7 separate regions of the Homo sapiens genome follow, and regions 1, 2, 4, 5, 6 and 7 are each linked to region 3. The links are contacts of gene promoters, found by promoter capture Hi-C in blood cells and fetal thymus (Javierre and others, 2016). All regions are on one chromosome and are shown on one strand. The core of a region is centred on a gene start or on the middle of the fragment in contact, and the rest is flanking DNA. Distances in the headings are between cores, read along the strand shown.

The links. The method cuts DNA at HindIII sites, captures the fragments that hold promoters and counts their contacts. A CHiCAGO score of 5 or more calls a contact.
Region 1: a contact is called between a fragment that was not itself captured here and the fragment with the promoter of TMED3 in region 3, in 1 of 17 cell types (naive CD4 T cells). The highest score is 5.2, in naive CD4 T cells.
Region 2: a contact is called between a fragment that was not itself captured here and the fragment with the promoter of TMED3 in region 3, in 1 of 17 cell types (naive CD4 T cells). The highest score is 5.1, in naive CD4 T cells.
Region 4: a contact is called between a fragment that was not itself captured here and the fragment with the promoter of TMED3 in region 3, in 1 of 17 cell types (fetal thymus). The highest score is 5.0, in fetal thymus.
Region 5: a fragment that was not itself captured here is called in contact with the fragment with the promoter of TMED3 in region 3 in 1 of 17 cell types (naive CD8 T cells); the score reaches 5.6 in naive CD8 T cells.
Region 6: a fragment that was not itself captured here is called in contact with the fragment with the promoter of TMED3 in region 3 in 1 of 17 cell types (naive CD8 T cells); the score reaches 5.7 in naive CD8 T cells.
Region 7: a fragment that was not itself captured here is called in contact with the fragment with the promoter of TMED3 in region 3 in 1 of 17 cell types (fetal thymus); the score reaches 5.7 in fetal thymus.

The regions. Positions count from the first base shown.
Region 1 is chr15:80,081,980-80,084,785 of GRCh38, reverse strand. All of the region lies in intron 1 of ZFAND6 (zinc finger AN1-type containing 6), which reads right to left. Among named protein-coding and RNA genes, the nearest start is that of ZFAND6, 24 kb to the right of the region's middle. The HindIII fragment of the contact is 3,047 bases long and covers 1-2,792 here.
Region 2 is chr15:79,996,650-79,999,483 of GRCh38, reverse strand. No RefSeq gene overlaps it. Among named protein-coding and RNA genes, the nearest start is that of BCL2A1, 27 kb to the right of the region's middle. The HindIII fragment of the contact is 6,034 bases long and covers 1-2,834 here.
Region 3 is chr15:79,309,645-79,312,491 of GRCh38, reverse strand. It overlaps TMED3 (transmembrane p24 trafficking protein 3), which reads right to left and starts at 1,380. Exons shown (of 3, transcript NM_007364.4): 1 at 1,075-1,380. The coding sequence starts at 1,242. RefSeq lists silencers at 1,207-1,276, 1,487-1,536. The HindIII fragment of the contact is 2,251 bases long and covers 225-2,475 here.
Region 4 is chr15:80,144,144-80,146,843 of GRCh38, reverse strand. No RefSeq gene overlaps it. Among named protein-coding and RNA genes, the nearest start is that of FAH, 7.5 kb to the left of the region's middle. The HindIII fragment of the contact is 2,021 bases long and covers 279-2,299 here.
Region 5 is chr15:80,161,666-80,164,514 of GRCh38, reverse strand. FAH (fumarylacetoacetate hydrolase) reads right to left here. Exons shown (of 14, transcript NM_000137.4): 5 at 2,179-2,269. Among named protein-coding and RNA genes, the nearest start is that of FAH, 10 kb to the right of the region's middle. The HindIII fragment of the contact is 7,230 bases long and covers 1-2,849 here.
Region 6 is chr15:80,178,151-80,181,009 of GRCh38, reverse strand. FAH (fumarylacetoacetate hydrolase) reads right to left here. Exons shown (of 14, transcript NM_000137.4): 12 at 785-886. Among named protein-coding and RNA genes, the nearest start is that of FAH, 27 kb to the right of the region's middle. The HindIII fragment of the contact is 4,346 bases long and covers 1-2,859 here.
Region 7 is chr15:80,063,161-80,065,860 of GRCh38, reverse strand. The region is part of intron 1 of ZFAND6 (zinc finger AN1-type containing 6); the gene reads right to left. Among named protein-coding and RNA genes, the nearest start is that of ZFAND6, 4.8 kb to the right of the region's middle. The HindIII fragment of the contact is 4,753 bases long and covers 1-2,700 here.

The DNA of each region.
Region 1 (2,806 bases), core at 20-2,519, 770 kb before region 3:
TATCCTCAGAGTCTAATACAGAGTCAAATCTGCAGGTTAGTAAAAGCAAAAACCTTCAATGACTTGAAGAGAAAATCCTAAATCTCAAAATTCAACATAGCTCAGGAACTTGCTCCAAGAAATAGCTTTGCCTAACTTAGTATTGTTTTCAAGGAAACTATCATCTCTCTGCCAACCCGGCTTAACGCCTTGGTCATTTCTGACACACTGCCCCCACGTAAATTAGTAATTAAATCAATACTCCTCATCTAACCCTTTTATGCCATTACATCTGGTTTAGGCCCTCCTCCCTCCCACTTCTTGGCCAGTTAGGCCTCAGTTATTAGGAAGTATATCCTTTTTCCAAAATGTCTGGGACCAGAAGAGTTTCAGATTTCAAATTTTTTTGTATTTTGGAATATTTGCATTATATACTTAACAGTTGAGCATCCCTAATCTGAAAATCCAAAATCTGAAATGCTCCAATGAACATTTTCTTTCAGCATCGTGTCTGCACTCAGAAAATTTCCAATCTTGGAGTATTTCAAATTTCGAATTTGGGATGATCGACCTACACTTCGTAAATCTCACTTAATCTCTTGCCTCTCTGAACTGATTTGCAGCAACTATGTGTGTGCTGTAATCATGCCTAACCCTGATCTAGGCTTAAACAGACTTCATAAGAAGCAGAGTGCTATAATACTGAGACAAGGCCTGGATTCAGATCTGAGCTGTTTCTTCTTAGCTGCACAATCTTGAACCCATGCCACTTTACTGCCTAAGAGGATATTTAAATCCTCTCAGGGTGATCAGACCACGCCCCAAATCAGTAATTCAAAGGTTTTCCATCACTAAGAGAATAGGTTTAGCTCATCTTGTCTATGAAGCCTCATTCTCCTGCCATTTTTCCTCCTGGGCCCTAAAGCTCTCAACTTCCATGCTTTTGAGAAGGAATTTCGCTCTGTTGCCCAGGCTGGAGTGCAATGGCATGATCTGAGCTCACCGCAACCTCCTCAGCCTCCTGAGTAGCTGGGATTACAGATGCTCACCACCATGCCCAGCTGATTTTTATATTTTTAGTAGATACACGGTTTCACCACGTTGGCCAGGCTAGTCTCAAACTCCTGACATTGGCTTCCTGAAGTGCTGGGATTACAGGCATGAGCCACTGTGCCCAGCCTAACTTCCATGCTTAATCATCTCCATGAACACGCTTTTCTCTAAAGTTACAAGGCTTACCTAACATCCCTTTCACTCACTCTGGTTAACTTTTATTTATTTTCTAAGTCTTAGCACAGCCACTTTACAGTCTTCTCTGACTCTGCTCCAATGATAATCTGGTCTCTTTTCTCCCTCATTATCATTTAATATAAATTCTCTGCATGTTTCCCCAACATATCATAAGTTCTTAGCATAGCACCCAGTAGTTGCTTAAGAAACCTGTGCAGAATTTATTATTATGGATAATACCACCACCAATTCACAGGGCTGGGAGGTTTAAAATAACGTATGTATAGGCCAGGTGCGGTGGCTCATGCTTGTAATCCCAGCACTTTGGGAGGCCGAAGCGGGCGGATCACGAGGTCAGGAGATTGAGACCATCCCAGCTAACACGGTGAAACCCCGTCTCTACTAAAAAATACAAAAATTAGCCAGGCGTGGTGGCAGGTGCCTGTAGTCCCAGCTACTCGGGAGGCTGAGGCAGGAGAATGGCGTGAACCCAGGAGGCGGAGCTTGCAGTGAGCCAAGATCGCGCCACTGCACTCCAGCCTGGGCGACAGAGTGAGACTCCATTTCAAAATAAATAAATAAATAAAATAACATATGTATATATGTATAGGATACATAGTAGGTGCTCAGTCCACCATCATTTTTTCTATCCCATATCCACCTCAGAGAAAACTTTATAAAAGAAAATTAAGGGAGGTGAGGGCAGTTCAATTGAATAATAAATTTCTAAGATGGAATTCTGATTTTTAGTTCATAGGAAATCAAAGAACCAGAAGATATAAACTCAGCAAAACAAGGAGGGAAGCATGGTCCAATCCTCATAATAAACTCCTTAAATATCTGGAACTCTTACCAGTTTCCATCCTTTGACACTCACTAAAATAAGAATGAATAATCCCTGCTATATCCATCTGTCAATCTTTCCTACCTTTCCCAGAAAGTCACTTGACAGTGATATTGAGATACCAAACCCAAAGGTTTAGGAACATTAGTAAAATTACTCACATTACCACAGAACTTCAAAAACAACAACTGGTAGTCTCCCTGCCTTGAATTCCTCTCCCTAAGTAAACCTTCCCTCTCTAAGTAAACCTGAATAGCAAGATCATGCTCTGGTATCAGCCTTCCCAATTTCAATCTAGGCTCTGCCACATAACCTTTGTCAATTTGTCCTATCTGTCTATAAACCTGTTTAACCTTTGTCAATTTTTCCTATCTCTCTATAAACTTAGCATTATCATCTGCGAAATAGGCACAACAATAATACCCATCTCATGATATTGTGAGAACTTAAAGTTAATGTGTCTGATAGTGTCCAATATGAGTTGCAATTAAATTAATATTCCAAACCCTGTTTTTACCACTTATTTGCATAGAAGCCTTCATAATTCACCACTGCTCACAGTCACACCATTCCCATATCCTATGTATACTCCATACCTCTTCCCCACCTGGGCTTACTGGAAAAATGAGAAATTAAATGGCACCTGCTAAACCAGCAAAATTTTGGTTGGCATATCCAGAATCTATTACTCCCTCCATTTTGCCATTCCAGGATTGCCTCTTTCCGGGTAAATAAAGCTTTTAGTGTACATCC
Region 2 (2,834 bases), core at 95-2,594, 690 kb before region 3:
CAATAATATTTAATAGTTTTCTACAGAGAGCTTTTGCATATCTTTTATTAGATTATTGCTATATATTTGATATTTTTGATGCTATTGTAAATCACATTCTTTGGAAAGGCATCTTATTGGAGAAATAATTTCAATATATACAAAATAAAGATAATAATGTAATAAACTCTCACCCATACATCATCCAGTCTTAATAAAACTCAACATTCTGCTATTCTTTTTTTTTTTAATTTTGAGACGGAGTTTTACTCTCATTGCCCAGGCTGGGGTGCAATGGCGCGATCTTGGCTCACTGCAACCTCCGCCTCCCGGGTTGAAGTGATTCTCTTGCCTCAGCCTCCTGAGTAGCTGAGATTACAGGCATGTGCCACCACGCCCAGCTAATTTTGTATTTTTAATAGACATGGGGTTTCTCAAACTGGTCTCGAACTCCCAACCTCAGGTGATCCGCCCGCCTAGGCCTCCCAAAGTGCTGGGATTACAGGTGTGAGCCACCACGCCTGGCCTCTGCTATTCTTGTTTTATCTATACCTCCCCTCACCTCTACTCTATTATTATTTTCTTATAGTTCGTTATTCTTGGCAAAATGTACATGCATTGAACTGCATAAATCTTAGCCTCAAAATTTACAAATAGATATCCTTGCATTAAACAGAGCCATACCAAGATGGAGAGCACTGCCATCACCCAGAAAGTTCCCTCAAGTCCTCTCCCAGGCAATCTTCCCTGACCTCAGCAACCACTGTTCAGATTTATTTTTCACCTTAGTTTTTTTCTGTTTTAGAGCCATATATGCCCATCAGCTAGTCTACCGTTAATATTTTACTCTACTAGCTTTATCATATAACTACAGATCTTTTCATCCCTCTATCCCTTGATTAATTCATTTTAGTTTATTTCACTTTTTTATTTTGTTTAATTTTTTTTGAGACAGAGTCTTGCCCTGTGGCCCAGGCTGGAGTGCAATGGCATGATCTCAGCTCACTGCAACCTCTGCCTCCAAGGTTCAAGTGATTCTCCTGCCTCAGCCTCCTGAGTTGCTAGGACTACAGGCATGTGCCACCATGCCCAGGTGATTTTTGTATTTTTAGTAGTGATGGAGTTTCACCGTGTTGGCCAGGCTGGTCTCAAACTCCTGACCTCAGGTGATCCTCCCTCCTTGGCATCTCAGTGTTGTGATTACAGGCGTGAGCCACTGCACCTGGCCTAATTCATTTAATTTTGGCCAACTTAAATTTTTTATTTTGTTTTGTTTTTTGAGACAGAGTCTCGCTCTGTTGCCCAGGCTGGAGTGCCGGGGCATGATCATAGTTCATGACAGCCTCAAAATCCTAGGCTCAAGTGATCCTACCACCTAGGCCTCCAAAACAATGGGATTACGGGCATGAGACACTGTGTCTGGCCTGATTTTGGTTAATTTTAAAGTAAATCACAGATATCAGTATACTTCACCCAGGTAGTCAGCATGCATATTATTAACTAGAATTCAATATTTGCTTATGGTTTTTAATTTTGTTGTAAAATTTACAGTCAATTAACTGCAGATGAGATTCGCCTCATGTGTGTACATTAGTTCAATTTTGACTAATGCATGTGTAACCCAAACCTCTTCCAAGATATAGGATATTGCTATCACCCAGAAAGTCCTCTTATATTCTTTTAAAATTATTTATTTATTTACTTATTGAAATGGAGTCTCACTCTGTTGCCCAGGCTGGAATGCAGTGGCACGATCTTGGCTCATTGCAACCTCCGCCTCCTGGGTTCAAGTGATTCTCCTACCTCAGCCTCCTGAGTAGCTGGGATTACAGGCACCCACCACCATGCCCGGCGAATTTTTGTATTTTTAGTAGAGATGGGGTTTCACCATATTGGCCAGGCTGGTCTTGAACTCCTGACCTTGTGATCCACCCGCCTCAGCCTCCCAAAGTGCTGGGATTACAGGTGTGAGCCACCGCACCTGGCCTTTATTTTTATTTTTGAGATGGAGTCTCGCTCTGTTGCCGGGCTGGAGTGCAATGGTGCAATCTCAGCTCACTGCAACCTCCGCCTCCCGGGTTCAAGTGATTCTCCTGCCGCAGCCTCCTGAGTAGCTGGAACTACAGGTGTGCACTACCACGTCAGGCCTTTTTTTTTGCATTTTTAGTGGAAACGGGATTTCGCCATGTTAGCCAGGCTGGTCTCGAACTCCTGACCTCAGGTGATCTGCCTGCTTTGGCCTCCCAAAGTGCCAGGATTACAGGCGAGAGCCACTGTTCCCAGCCTCCTCTTACATTCTTTACAGTCAATCTTCACCTTTGCTCCTCAGAGATATGCACTCCTCTGATTTTTTTTCCACCATAGATTAGTTTTGTCTGTTTTATACTTTCATATAAATGGAATTATACAGTATTTACACAGTATTTACCTTTTTATAAGGCTTTTTAAACTTAGCATAATATGTTGACATCTATCTGTGTTGCTTGTATCAATAGATCAATAGTTCGTTCTTTTTTTTTTTTTTTTTTTGAGACGGAGTCTTGCTCTGTTGCCCAGGCTGGAGTGCGGTGGTGCAATCTTGGCTCACTGTAACCTCCGCCTTCTGGGTTCAAGCAATTTTCCTGTCTCAGCCTCCTGAGTAGCTGGGATTATAGGTGCCCACCACCACACCCAGCTATTTTTTGCATTTTTAGTAGAGATGGGGTTTCACCATGTTGGCCAAGCTGGCCTCGAACTCTTGACTTCAAGTGATCTGCCCACCTTGGCCTCCCAAAGTGCTGGGATTACAGGCATGAGCCACCGTGCCCAGCCCAGTCTTTTTTTTATTACTGAGTAGTATTCTGTTTACATATGTA
Region 3 (2,847 bases), core at 131-2,630:
TGTTTAAACCCAGGCTGGACACACTTTGACAAGGGATTTCCGCCCTGGCAGTGACCAGATGACATCTGAGGTCCCTGCAACCACAGAATTATCATTCTTTTTGTCATTGCACCTAGGTTGCCCATGTTAACCCAGTCACAATTTGCATGTTGTCCACAAAGACCTGAAAGTGGACAAATCAGTGACTGAGACTACCACATAGAAGTTGTCTCCAAGCGCAAGCTTCCTTCAGTGCCTCTAACCACAGAGGAACTGGTCAAATAGCTTGCCCCCATTCCTGCTGCCCGTGGCCCCTCATTTCTGAAGTGCCTATCAGCATGCGTCCACAAGCAGATAGCTGTCTGAGTATGATGCCCACTTGGCCCCCAACCCTAGACCTGCTCACTAAATATCGGGGCAGACTACTCACTCAAGACCTGCTCCTGTCACCTGTGGGCCACGGGATCTCTCAAAGGAGACAGGAATACAGGAACTGAGCTTTTCTAAGCCATATGGCAAGAGCCAAGTCTTGCAGCCACACCGCTCCTTGTAAACACCGCCAGGCCTCAATGGCTGCACTGATCCCTCCTTTCCAAAGTGCCCATTCTCACTTCTGCTGCCCTCACCTCACTCCAACTTTAAACGCTGGAGAGGGGAGGAATAAACTAAAACTATGAGCCCACTTCCTCTTGCTGCCATTTTTCAGTACTCGAAGGCACAAGGTGGTCTAAGAGACTGGGGTTAGAGAGCCTGTGTCCAGCCGATCAGAACTGCCGTTGGTTAGTGTCTCGGGGGCCTGCGGATATCTCTTTGGCCAGCTCCCCAGGCTGCGGGATCCGCCCTGGCGTCCCCATCCCGGGCTCGCACCTGCGGCGCTGACTACCTCCTCGCTGGCCAGGCTCGTCTCGGGTGGGCCCTGATGACCCAAACCTTCCTCCTCACGGGGAAGTCAACTGGTCTCCGGGGACTCCCACCCCATGCAGCCTCCCTGTAGCCTGTGGCTAATTCGAGCGCCTCCAGTCAGGGGCTAGCCAGTGTCCAGGTGAGACCTGGGAGTGGAGGGAGAAGGGAGCGCTGCCGGGCGCCCGGCCTCACCTGGTAATCCAGGGAGAACTTCACGCCCTGCTCCACCTCCTCGTGGAAGCACTGCTTGGCGTTGTCCGGCAGCTCGAAGGTGAGCTCGGCCCCGCAGGGCTGCTCGGCCCGGCGCAGGAGCAGCAGCAGAAGCAGCACGGAGGCGGAGCGCGGGACAGTGCTGCCCATGATGCTCTCGGTCCCGTCTCGAGGGCCGCGGCTCGGGCGCTGCGCCCCCGGCGGGCTGGGGCGACGACTACCGACCGGGTCCTAGGAGGATGTAAGGGGATAGACGTGGCACCAGCGGAGCTCTGCGCTTCCGGGAGGGCCGGCGGCTCAGTGCGCAGCCGCGCGCTCAAAGTGGGCCCGGGCACCTTCCGCCCGCTGCGCGTGCGCGCTGGCCGCGCTGCGCCAGGGGACACGCCCCCCCCACCCCCCCGCAACGCCTCTCCCGGCTCGGAGGGTGGGTCTCCGCGGAGGGGAGGTGGGGCTCCACCTAGCGCGCCCCTACCCAGAAGAGGGAGAAGCCCTCCCCGCTGTTCTGCGCGCTCCCGGACCCGCAGGGCTGAGCATCCCCCCAGGTCGACCCAGGTCCACCCTCCAGCTGCTGCAGCACGAAGCACGTGGGATTTTACTCCCTCTATAAGGCTCCGCTTTTGACAGGCTCTGTAACTTCAGTCTCACACTTCCCTCGAGAACCAGTCTCCTTGTCTTGAAATGGGTGTGCCCAAACCTAACATCCACAGTAGTTAGGGAGCTAGGTGAAAGATAAGGGAACGCTGGGAACCCGATTAACACTCCTTTCTTCATTCCCATACCCTTCCCAAGGTGAAAGAGTGTGCGAAGGGGGTGGGGAGTGGGGAGAGTAAGTAAAGACCCATCATTACACCTGCTCTGGGAAAAACACGAGCGTGCTCACACACAAACGATCTCATGAAAATCCAAGTAAAGTCTCGCAGCGACTTCAGGTATATTTTGGCTGTCAGGCTCGTTGAAAATTCTTTTTGCACAAAACTGTCATTTTTGCACTTTGACTTCTTAAAAGCTCTGAAAGCAGATAAATTGGTTTACTGTCTTACCCATGACCACTGACTTAAGATTCTTTTGTATAATCGTAACTATAGGTATAGTTTTATATTCACTGTGATCCAATAAACAAAGAGAAAAGACGTAGATTGTGATGTCGATACTCAATAAATAACTTATTCAGGAGAGCATTACTAGACGTGGTATATCTTGACTTCAGGAAAGAATGTTACTGCCCATATAGATTTCCGCTGGCCACATTCACTATGGATGAACACGCTAATGTGTGAAAGCAATCTGTAGGCTTGGAAATAACATGCATGCATAACATAGTTAATAATATTGACTGGCTCAGTGACAGGCATGGAAGAGGTGTTTAGTAGTGTCCCTTAAGCTTCCTTCCCTGGCACGGTCCTATTTCACGTTTTTTTTTTTTTTAGGAACTGATAGAAAACATGGAAGTAATAATCATCTGATCTAGATGAACTAAGTGGAGAAATAAATGACAGATATAAAACCACAATTGGCCGGGAGTGGTGGCTCACGCCTGTAATCCCAGCACTTTGGGAGGCTGAGGCGGGTGGATCACGAGGTCAAGAGATCGAGATCATCCTGGCCAATGTGGTGAAACCCCTTCTCGACTAAAAATACAAAAATTAGCTGGGGGTGGTGGTGCGTGCCTGTAGTCCCAGCTACTCGGGAGGCTGAGGCAGGGAGGCAGGGGTATTGCTTGAACCTGGGAGGTGGAGTTTGCAACCTGGCGACAGA
Region 4 (2,700 bases), core at 40-2,539, 830 kb before region 3:
ATGATATCTCATCGTGGTTTTATTTTGCATTTTTCTGATAATGATGTTGAGCATTTTTTCACATACCTGTTGGCCATTTTTATGTCTTTTGGGAAATGTCTATTCATATCCATTACTCATTTTTTAAGAATTAGGTTACTTGTTTTCTTGCTATTGAGTTGTTTGACTTCATTATTTATTTTAGATTCTAATTCCATATCAGATGTGTGGTTTGCAAATGTTTTCTCCCACTTCCTAGGTTTTTTCTTGTCGATTGTTTCCTTGGCTATACAGAAGCTTTTTAGCCTGATATAATCGCATCTGTCTGTATTTGCTTTTGTTGCCTGTGCTTTTGGGTTCATATCCAAAAAATCATTGCCCAGACCAATGACATGGAGCTTTTCCCATTTTCTTCTAGTTTTACAGTTTCATTTCTTAAGTTTACGTTTTTAATCCATTTTGAGTTGATTTTTATATATGGTGTGAGATAAGGGTCTAATTTCATTCTTCCACATGTGGATATCCAATTTTCCCAACATCATTTATTGAAGAGACTGTCCTTTCCCCATCACGTATTCTCAGCACTTTTGTGAAAAATCAACTGGCTGTAAATCTGTGGATTTATTCCTGGGCTCTCTATTCTGTTCAATATGTCTGTTATTATGCCAGCACCATGTTGTTTTGATTACTATAGCTATATAGTAGATTCATTTTGTTTTGTTTTGCTTTGCTTTAGAGACAGGGTTTTGCTCTGTTCTCTGGCTGGAATTCAGTGATATGATCACGGCTCACTGCAGCCTCAACCTCCCAGTGGCTCAAGTGATCCTCCCACCTTAGTCTTCTGCATAGCTGGGACTATAGGCATCTGCCACCATGCCTGGCCAATATTTAAAAAAAAAATGTAGAGATGGAGTCTAGCTATGTTGTGTAGGCTGGTCTCAAACTCCTGGGCTCAAGTGATCCTCCTGCCTCAGCCTCCCGAAGTGCTGGAATTACAGGCATGAGCCACCACATCTGGCTGCTTTGTAGTAGATGTTGAAGTCAGATAGTGTGATGCCTCCAGCTTTGTTCTTTTTGCTCAAGAGTGCTTTAGCTATTCAGCGTCTTTTGCAGTTCCATACATGTTTTAGGATTTGTTTGTTTGTTTCTGTGAAAAATATCGTTACAATTTTGACAGGGATTCCATTGAATTTGTAGATTGCTTTGGGTAGTATGGACATTTTAACAATATTAAGTCTTCCAATCTATGAACATGGGATATCTTTTATGTTGTTTTTTTTTTTTTTGAGACGGAGTTTCGCTCTTGTTGTCTGTCCAAGCTGGAGTGCAGTGGCGCGATCTTTGCTCACCGCAACCTCCACCTCCCAGGTTCAAGCGATTCTCCTGCCTCAGCCTCCAGAGTAGCTGGGATTACAGGCATGCGCCACCACGCCTGGCTAATTTTGTATTTTTAGTAGAGACAGGGTTTCTCCATGTTGGCAGGGTGGTTTCGAACTCCCAACTCAGGTGATCTGTCTGCCTCGGCCTCCCAAAGTGCTGGAATTACAGGCTTGAGCCACCGCGCCTGGCCATATCTTTTCATTTATTTCTGTTTTCTTCAATTTCTTTCATTGATGTTTTCTAGTTATCAGTGTACAGGTCCTTCACCTCCTTGGTTAAATTTATTCCCAAGTGTTTTGTTTGGTTGGGGGTTTTTTGGTAGCTATTGTAAATGAGATTGTTTTCTTAATTTCCAAAAATCCCTTCTGCTACTTCTATTCATCCCCTGGACCGCTGGCAGCCACTTATCTCTTTACTGTCTCTGTAGTCTTGACTTTTCCAGAATGTCATATAATTGGAATCATATAGTATGTAGCTTTTAAGATTGGGTTCTTTCACTTAGCGATATGCATTAAGATTCTTCTATGTCTTTTCCTGCCCTGAAAGTTCCTTTCTATTTTTGTTGAATACTGTTTCACTGTATAAATGTTCCACAGTTTGTTTGTTCACCTATTGAAGGACATCTTGGTTGCTCCCAATTTTTGGCAATTAAGGATAAAGCTGCTAAAATGTCAGTGTGCAAGTTTTTGTGTGGACACTTTTGCTTTTTAACCAAGTATACTTTATTAAATCATTAAAAAAAATTTTTAGAAATGGGGTCTCACTATGTTGCCCAGACCAAACTCAAACTCCTGGCCTCAAGTGACTCTCCTACCTCAGCCTCCTGAGTAGCTGAGGCTGCAGGCTTTTTTTTTTTTAATTGCTATCAGTGTATCTTCTTTGATATCTATTCAGATATTTTGCCCATTTTTAGGTTGGACTGTTTTCATACAATTAAGCTTTTAAGAGTTTTTTGTATATGTTAAATGAAAGCCCTTTATGTGTTTTGCTAATTTTTTCCAAGTCTGTGGCTTGTCTTTTAATTTTCTTAACAGCAGCTTCTGCAGAGCAGTTTTTAACTTTAACAGAGTCCAAGTCATCAATAATTTTTCTTTCCCAAGTTATGCTTTTAGTGTTTTACTTAGAAAAATCGAAACCAAACCTTGAATTTCTTATATTCTAAGTTTTACATTTTTGTGTTTTACATTTATGTCTATGATAAATTTTGAGTTAACTTTTGTGAAAGGTTCAAGGTGTCTAGATTGACTTTTTTTGCATGTAAATGTACAGCTGATCACTACTGCTTGAAAAAGTATTCCTATGAAAAAGACTTTCTCCATGAATTGTCTTCTCTTCTTTGTC
Region 5 (2,849 bases), core at 164-2,663, 850 kb before region 3:
CCCTCCAAAAGATATCCAGATCCTAATCCCTGGAGCCTGTGGATATTATTACATGGCAAAAAGAGTTTTGCAGGTGTGATTAAGTTAGGGATCTTGAGATAGGGATACTGTCCCTGGTTATTTGAGTGAACCCTAAATGTAATCACAAGGGTCCTTATAGACAGAGGCAAGGTCAAAGGAGGAAGTAGGAAATGTAACAGCAGAAGCAAGTGGTTGGAGTGATATGAGGAAGGGGTCAAAAGGCAAGGGATACAGGCAACCTCTAAAGCTGAAAAGTCAAAGAAATGGGTTCTCTCCTAGAGCCTCCAGAAGGAACCAGCCCTGCTGACACCTTGACTTTAGCCAGTGAGACTGATTTTTGACTTCTGGCCTCCGGAACTAGAAGAGAATATATTTGTGTTTTAAGCCACCAAGTTTGTGGTAATTTGTTACAGCAGCAACAGAAAACTAATACAGTGTGTATGTACATATATATTTTTTGTGCTTTTTTTATAAAAGTGAGACACACTTTACCTAATTGCCTATAGTTTACCTATTTCACTTAACACAGATCAGTGCACATCTTTCTTGATCTAAATCTTTCACTAGCTGCAAAACATTTCATATTGTGAATAGACCAATTTTTCAACCATTCCTCCACCGATAAGCATTCAGATTACTTCCAGTTCTGGGCCACTAGAAACTCTGCTAATTAACATCCTTGCTCTTGGATACAACCCACTGGTGCTTTTATTTCTGTAGGATAGATGCATGAAAGTGAGCATTGCAGGTCAAAGAGTAGACACATTTTTAATTGTAAATGTTTACATATTTTCTGTAGTGTTTGGGTTAATTCCAGTAAATATATGTTACCTTTATAATAAAGACTATGTACATAAAGCTAAAAAGTCACAGCTGTGGGCCATCTTGCATCAAACATGGCTAGAGAAGGCCTGTTTACTCTTATTCTGCAGAAGGACATGGGGCAAGGATGGCTGCGGCCCCCACACTCGGTTTCAGACACAGTCAACACTCATTTCCCAGGTCCCGGCTCTCCTCTCACTTCCTGGTGCCCCTGCCCTTTGGCCACTGGGATCCTGGCACACAGGTGACAGCCAGCTCTTCTGGGGCTGGGCAGTCCACTGGGTCATCACTGCCAAGGACACTCATATAGACACTCAGCCCATCAGATAGACAAGTTGAAGCTGGCTGGGGACAAATACAGCCTGGAGCCTGTACAGTGCAAGATTCTCAAATATTTGCGCATCTCACGTGGAAGCCTGGAACCTGGAGCCTGGGTTCTGGTCTCAGATTCACCCCTGCCTCATTCTGCAACCTTGGCCTTGTTGTTCAACATCTCTGGCTTGGAACTGCTCTCTCTCCCTTTCTTTCTTCCTCATCTTGGTTCTAACAGACCCTCCCCTCATGGCATAGCCTACTGGAGACACTCACTCGAGAGAGAGTAAAGCCCCGTCCCTAACCCAGCTCCTGTGTGTGACTGATGGCACTGGGGCCTGGAGTGTATGCCTGCCACTGAGTCCAGGCCCTCTTCAGTTCCAAGGAACCATCACATCCAGGGGACAACACAGAACAAAGGGCAAGGATCCCAGCTCTGCATCCTCAGCTTGGTCAATGGCCTGATCTGGGGGCTGGGAGACAGGCTGTGGCCCTGTTGTGCTCAGGCAAGTTGATCCTTCTCTGAGCCCATTTTCCTGTCTGTAAAATGGGGCTTACAATCATGGCCTTGTGACATCAGAGAACTACTACGAGGATCAAACAAATGAATGAAACCGATCACATGTTGAGGAATATACAGCACTGGGCACATTTGAGGATTCTCATTCATCAGAAAATGTAAGTATGGAGCATGCTAGAGTCTAAGACTTGCCCATAGTACAATAATACACAGCTTATAAATGAAAGACTCCAGAAGGAGCATAGGGATTAAGGGAATCTAATTCCAACCCCTGCTGTCCAAGGAAGTTTAAGGGACTTGCCCTTCGATCCCACAGCAAGTCCTAAGCCAAGCTGAGCAGGAGACCAGAAGCTGAGACCACTGCTTCCAGAGGTTGCAACATCATAACTGCTTTTCCTCCCCAGTTTACTTTAAGAAGAACTTGGCAGCTCCTGAGACAAATATGCTGCTGGAAATGAAAAGAAAGACTTTGAACTTATGCAGACATTTGGCCCAGTTCATACCAATTTGGCATCAACGCATTCTCCTTGTCCCTGAACATGATTCCGACGTTGGTAGCATGCTGCCGAGAGGAATAGAAGTCTGTGTAGTCTCCTGCAGAGGAAAGACCCAACAGATCCCATCAGCAACCCACATGCCTCAGGAAGAATGGACTGTTCCAAGCACTGGAGCCACGAGTGTGCACACAATACTGTTTACACATCCAGAGCTCAGCCTGCAGCCAGCAATGGCAGCACCAAATGCAATATAAAATATCCTCACTGAAGATTTGTTTTTAGAGCCCTCAGCTGAGAAACAAATAAGAAATCAGGAGTCCAGACTTTCTGAAACTGACAGTGGAATGTGAACACCAAGTGGCTGATACCACCTCCCTTCTCAGGCTCCCCACTTTTCCCACACACAACTGCCATTCCCGAGTTCCCACAGGCTCCCTCACCACGCCTATACTGATTGACTTCTCCCTTGTCCCTGTGTATTCAAATCCTGGCAACTCTTTGAGGCCCGCTCCTCCCTGAAGCCCTCCCTGCTCTCTCTAGCAGGATCTCTTCCCCCTCCAAATCCCCTCCCCTGAATCCTTCTGGGGCAGGCTTCGCTTCCCACTGGTGCTCCAGTTATGTGTGTGCACATCTTTGCTAGACTGTGGACATTCCAGGACAGCCCCAGCCCAGTCCTC
Region 6 (2,859 bases), core at 1-2,500, 870 kb before region 3:
TGAATTTATGCCTTGGCTCTGGCATGGACCATGCTCAGCAAGACCTGGGAGTCCCGAGAAGTGGCAGGGGGCCCTCATGCCCCTCAGAGACCCTGCCTCGGCCTTGGTGGGATCACTGCAGAGATGCCTTTGAGACATGGAACTCTGCCCCTTCTTCCTGTGGGGACAGCAATGGTTCCACTAAGGACATCGCTTGTTTAGGAATCAGTGAATCCCTGACCAGAGTGCCCAGTGCCCCCTGCAGCATCCCCTCCCTGCTCTGGAGGCTGCAGTTTGCCCAGATATCGTGATGCTTAACACCCTCCTGTCGACAGCTCAAGGAACAAGAGGGCTCGGCCAGCCCCCTGCAGGAAGTGAGTGACACATGCACCACCCCAAGGTCATCATCTCTGAAGGTTCTGTGACTCCCGCAGGCTTACAGGGGGACAAGCGGGTGGGAAGGGGCACAGCAGCATGGCCACCTCATCCTGGGAGGGTGTAGTGTGAGATGGTGACAACCAAGACACTATCACTGTCTCCTGACTCCTCCCCACGTGTCACTGCGCTGCTCCCCTACAGAGGCAGAGACCCAGGCTTCCGTTCTCACACCAGTCTCTTTAGGTTTGAATTTGGATGAGAAGTCCCTCCTGCACCCAGAGAGAAAGGCTACGAGGAAGACAGAGTTGTGAGATACACCCACCTCGGGCCTGAAATCTCTTCTCGAGGCTGAGCTGAGGGCCCTTGGGGCTGTGTGGGGAGCAGGGATGCTCTGCGTGGGCAGCCCTCAGTGCAGCCAGATACTCACCGGCCCGCTGATGGTCCCAGAAGCCAGGAGGTCCCCCGGCCGCAGGTTGCAGCCGTTGACAGAGTGGTGAGTGAGCTGCTGCAGCATCGTCCAGTACATGTACTGCAGGCAATGGACGCGAGGTGGAATGAGCAGCGGCAGGCTTAGCCTAGCATCCCGGAGGCAGCTGGGCACAGCCTGCCCTGCTCACGACCGCCTTCCCTGGCCTTTCCCCGGTCCCCAGCTCCCCCAGCCAGCTCTCTCCAGTCCCTTATAGTAAGGACACATTGTCCTCCTGGGGAGCTGCCCAGAGACCTCCCCCAAGCTCTTCCATCTCCTTCACAAACTCCAACCTCAGCTCCTCTGCTACCTCAAGCCCACACTGACCACCTTCTCCAAGCAGCATCCCCTAAGGGCTGACCTTACTGCTCAGTCCCTCAGCCTGCAACATGCCCTTGTGTACAACACTCCACTCTGCCCTGGGAACACCCTCCAGTCCCGTATTGGGAGAATCTAAGTCCACACCACAGCAGAGGCTTCTCGTGAGCAAAGCCCTCGCTCCCATTCTCCCATGCCGGGCCTTGGGATGGACACTGGGCAATGGAGCTGAACGATTCAAACACGATGTCAGGGCAGGCCAAGGAGCGAGGGAGAGCTGTGGGCGGTCAGGCTGTGGGCAGAGGGGGCCAAGGCACCACGTGCCCACCGAGACGCTCAGATGCAATGCACGCCCATGCCTGTCCCAGGCCACAGCTTCTCACATTGCCATTCCTACAGCCACACATCCCGGCATAGGAAACCCAAAAGATGGATTCTTGCCCACGAGCCCCTGCAAGGAGGCCCCTTAATTTCTTCTTACTAGCCCTAAGGAGCCCAGAATAATATTAAATTAGAAGGGAAATTAGGGAAACTAGAAATAGTTCAATGATTCAGAGGATATTCAAAAGGCCAAGAAACAAATGAACCATAAACATATGACTAACATGCCCAGCTGCATTAGTCATTAGGGAAATGCAAACTGAAGTCACAATCCCAGGCACGGTTTGAACGAAAAGGCAAACACCACCAGAGCTGACGAGGATGTGGAGCAGGCAAAATGCTTACATGCTGCTAGTGGGAGTATATACTGGTATAACCACTTCAAAAAACTGTTTGGAAGTACCCCTAGGCTGAGTCTATGTGTACTCTATGACCCAGCAAGCCTATTACTGGATATACACTCAATAGAAATGTGCACATATGTGCACCAAAAGGTGTGTACTAAAATGTTCACAGTAACTCTGTGATAGCCAAAAACAACGGAAACAACCAAATGTCCATCGATTGTGGAATTGATGTGACTTACAAAATAAGTCAGTTGGCCGGGCGCAGTGGCTCATGCCTGTAATCCCAGCACTTTGGGAGGCTGAGGCGGGCGGATCACAAGGTCAGGAGATCGAGACCATCCTGGCTAACATGGTGAAACCCCATCTCCACTAAAAATACAAAAAAAAAAATTAGCCGGGCGTGGTGGCGGGCACCTGTAGTCCCAGCTACCCGGGAGGCTGAGGCAGGAGAATGGCATGAACCCAGGAGGCGGAGTTTGCAGTGAGCCGAGATCGCGCCACTGCACTCCAGCCTGGGCAACGAGCGAGACTCCATCTCAAAAAAAAAAAAAAATTAAGTCAGTTGTGGAATATTTATACAGTGCAACACTATAAGGCAATGAGAAAAATGAGCTGTCACTGCAAAGAGCAACAGGGTTGAATCTCACAGATCTAACACTAAAACAAAGATGCCAGCTACAAAAGAATACATGCTACTTTATGATGCCATTTCTATAAAACTGAAAAACAGAAAAAAAATAATACATGGTAGCAGAGGTCAGGAGAGGAGTGACCTTTGCTGGAGGGAGTGATGAAGTGACCTGGAGGGCCCCACGGGGCTGCTGAGGTGCTGGAAATTTTCCATTTCTGATCTGGGTGCTGGTTGCACAGGGATGTTCATTTTAGGAAAATTCTTCAAGCTGTACATGTATAATATGCACTTTTTTTAATTTTTATTTTTTGAAATAGGGTCTTGCTCTGTCACGCATGCTGGAATGCAGTGGTGTGATC
Region 7 (2,700 bases), core at 19-2,518, 750 kb before region 3:
TAAAAAATTCAAAACTGGCCAGGCACAGTGGGTCACGCCTGTAATCCCAGCACTTTGGGAGGCCGAGGTGGGTAGATCACCTGAGGTCAGGGGTTCGAGACCAGCTTGGCCAACACGATGAAACCCTATCTCTACTAAAAACACAAAAATTAGCCAGGTGTGGTGGCACACCCCTGTAATCCCAACTACTCAGAAGGCTGAGGCATGAGAATCACTTGAACCTGGAGACAAAGGCTGCAGTGAGCCAAGATCATGCCATCACACTCCAGCCTGGGCAACAGAGTAAGACTCTGTCTCCAAAAAAAAAAAAAAAAAAAAAAAAATCAAAACCAAAACTAATTTGAAGCCCCAAAAGAATAAACTAAAAAATCTGAGGACTAACAAAGCAACAACCAAAAAAGGGGGATGGGGGGGAGACTTAAACAATAACAGAAACACACTTGTTTACAAAATGAAAATACCATGCCCCATGTATACAAGTGTACACTGGTACCAAATCATTGATATTTCAATAAAACCTAAAAAGAACCAAGAAGATGTGCATTTAACATATGATAAAGGCAGCTTTATTTCAAGGCAACAAGTTGTTTTTTTTTTTAGTGGGGCCAAAATTTTTAAGGAAAAATAAGGGAGGTTATTTCACTTCACATATGTCAAAATAAATCCCAGATGAACAGAAAAAGACAGATGTGAAATATGAAACCGTAAAAGAACTAGAAGAAAACTTAACTGGGTAGGAGAAGCCTTTAAATATAAAAGCAAAGTAGAAGCCATAAAAGAAAGTATTAACCTAATTTTCTTAAAAAGTAAAAACCCTTGCCTGTTTTTTTGTTTTGTTAAAAAAAAAAAAAAAAAAAAGGGGGAGAGAGAGAGAGCAAGAGAAAAGACAACACTGTTAGGTAAATGAAGAGCCAGGAAAAATATTTGCATGCCAGGCCCAGTGGCTCATACCTGTAATCCCAGCACTTAGGGAGGCCAAGGCAGGTAAATTGCTTGAGCCCAGGAGTTTGAAACCATTCTGGGCAACATGGTAAAACCCCATCTCCACAAAAAATTGCCAGGCATGGTGGGGAACGCCTGTAATCCCAGTTACACAGGAGGCTGAGGCGGGATAATCACTTCAGCCCAGGAAGTAGAGGCCTCAGTGAACCATGACTGCACCACTGCCCTCTATCCTGGGTGATAGAGCAAGACCGTGTCTCAAAAAACATTTTAAAAAACCCAAACATACGTGTGTGTGTGTGTGTGTGTGTATGTATACATGTGTATATATATTTGTGTGTATATGTATATTTGCAGTATATAGCAGAGTTGCTATCCTAAATCCTAAAAATATAAAAAGTTTAAAAGGGTATCACAAATATAAAACACCAGCCAAAATGGGCAAAAGATAAACTAGAAGATGTCCAATATCCAGGTTTATTTACCATCATAATTAATTAAAGAAATATATGATGATTCCTATAGAAAGGGAAGGAAAGATGGAGGGTAGATGGATAGACAGATAATGCTGGTAAAGATATACAAGAAATGTGTATTCTGTCATATTTTTAGTCAAATTTGATATTAAAGTTTGATGTTAGTCAAACTTTTAAGGACAAAATTTGGCAATATTTATGAAAAGACTTTAAGAAATGTTCATATGCTTTGATTCAGTGATTGTAAGACAGACTAGATCCGAAAGAAACAATGACAAATACATAGTAGTAGCTCTTATATTTATCACACTACTTATAATAATAAGAAAAAAATAATAAACTTAAGTTACACCCAACAGATAACTAGGTTATAGTACTTTTATAAGATGGAACTGTCCATGTGGGTAACCACTAGTCATATGTGGCTACCGAGCACTTGAAATGTGGCCAGTCTGGGTCAGACATGGTGGCTCACGCCTGTAATCCCAGCACTTTGGGAGGCCAAGGCAGGCAGATCATTTGAGGCCAGGAGTTCAAGACCAGCCTGGCCAACATGGTGAAACGCGGTCTCTACTAAAAACATAAAAATTTAGGCCGGGTGCAGTGGCTCACACCTGTAACCCTAGCATTTTGGGAGGCCTAGGCAGGTGGATCACCTGAGGTCAGGAGTTTGAGACCAGGCTGGCCAACATGCTGAAACCCCCTCTCTACTAAAAATACAAAAATTAGCTGGGTGTAGTGGCATGCACCTGTAGTCCCAGCTACTGGGGAGAGGCTGAGGCAGGAGAATCGCTTGAACCCAGGTTGCTGTGAGCCGAGATTGTGCCACTGCACTCTAGCCTGTATAACAGAGTAAGATTCCGTCTCAAAAAAAAAAAAAAAAATTAGCTGGGCGTGGTGGTGCATGTCTGTAGTCTCAGCTACTCGGGAGGCTGAGGAACAAGAATCACTTCAACCTAGGAGACAGAGGTTGCGGTGAGCTGAGATCGCACCGTTGCACTCCAGCCTGGGAGACAGAGCAAGACTCTGTCTCAAAAAAAATACAAAAAAAGAAATGTAGCTAGTCTGAATTGAGATGTACTTTAAGTGGAAAATACACACCAAATTATAAAGACAGTCTAAAAAAAGACAACTATCCCATCAACAATTTCTTATACTGATTACATGTTGAAATAATAGTTTTTGGGTTACATAAAACGTATTTTCACCAGTTTCTCTTTTTTTCATAATGTGGCTACCAGAAAATTTTAAATTACTTAATGTAGCTCCCATTTGTGACTAA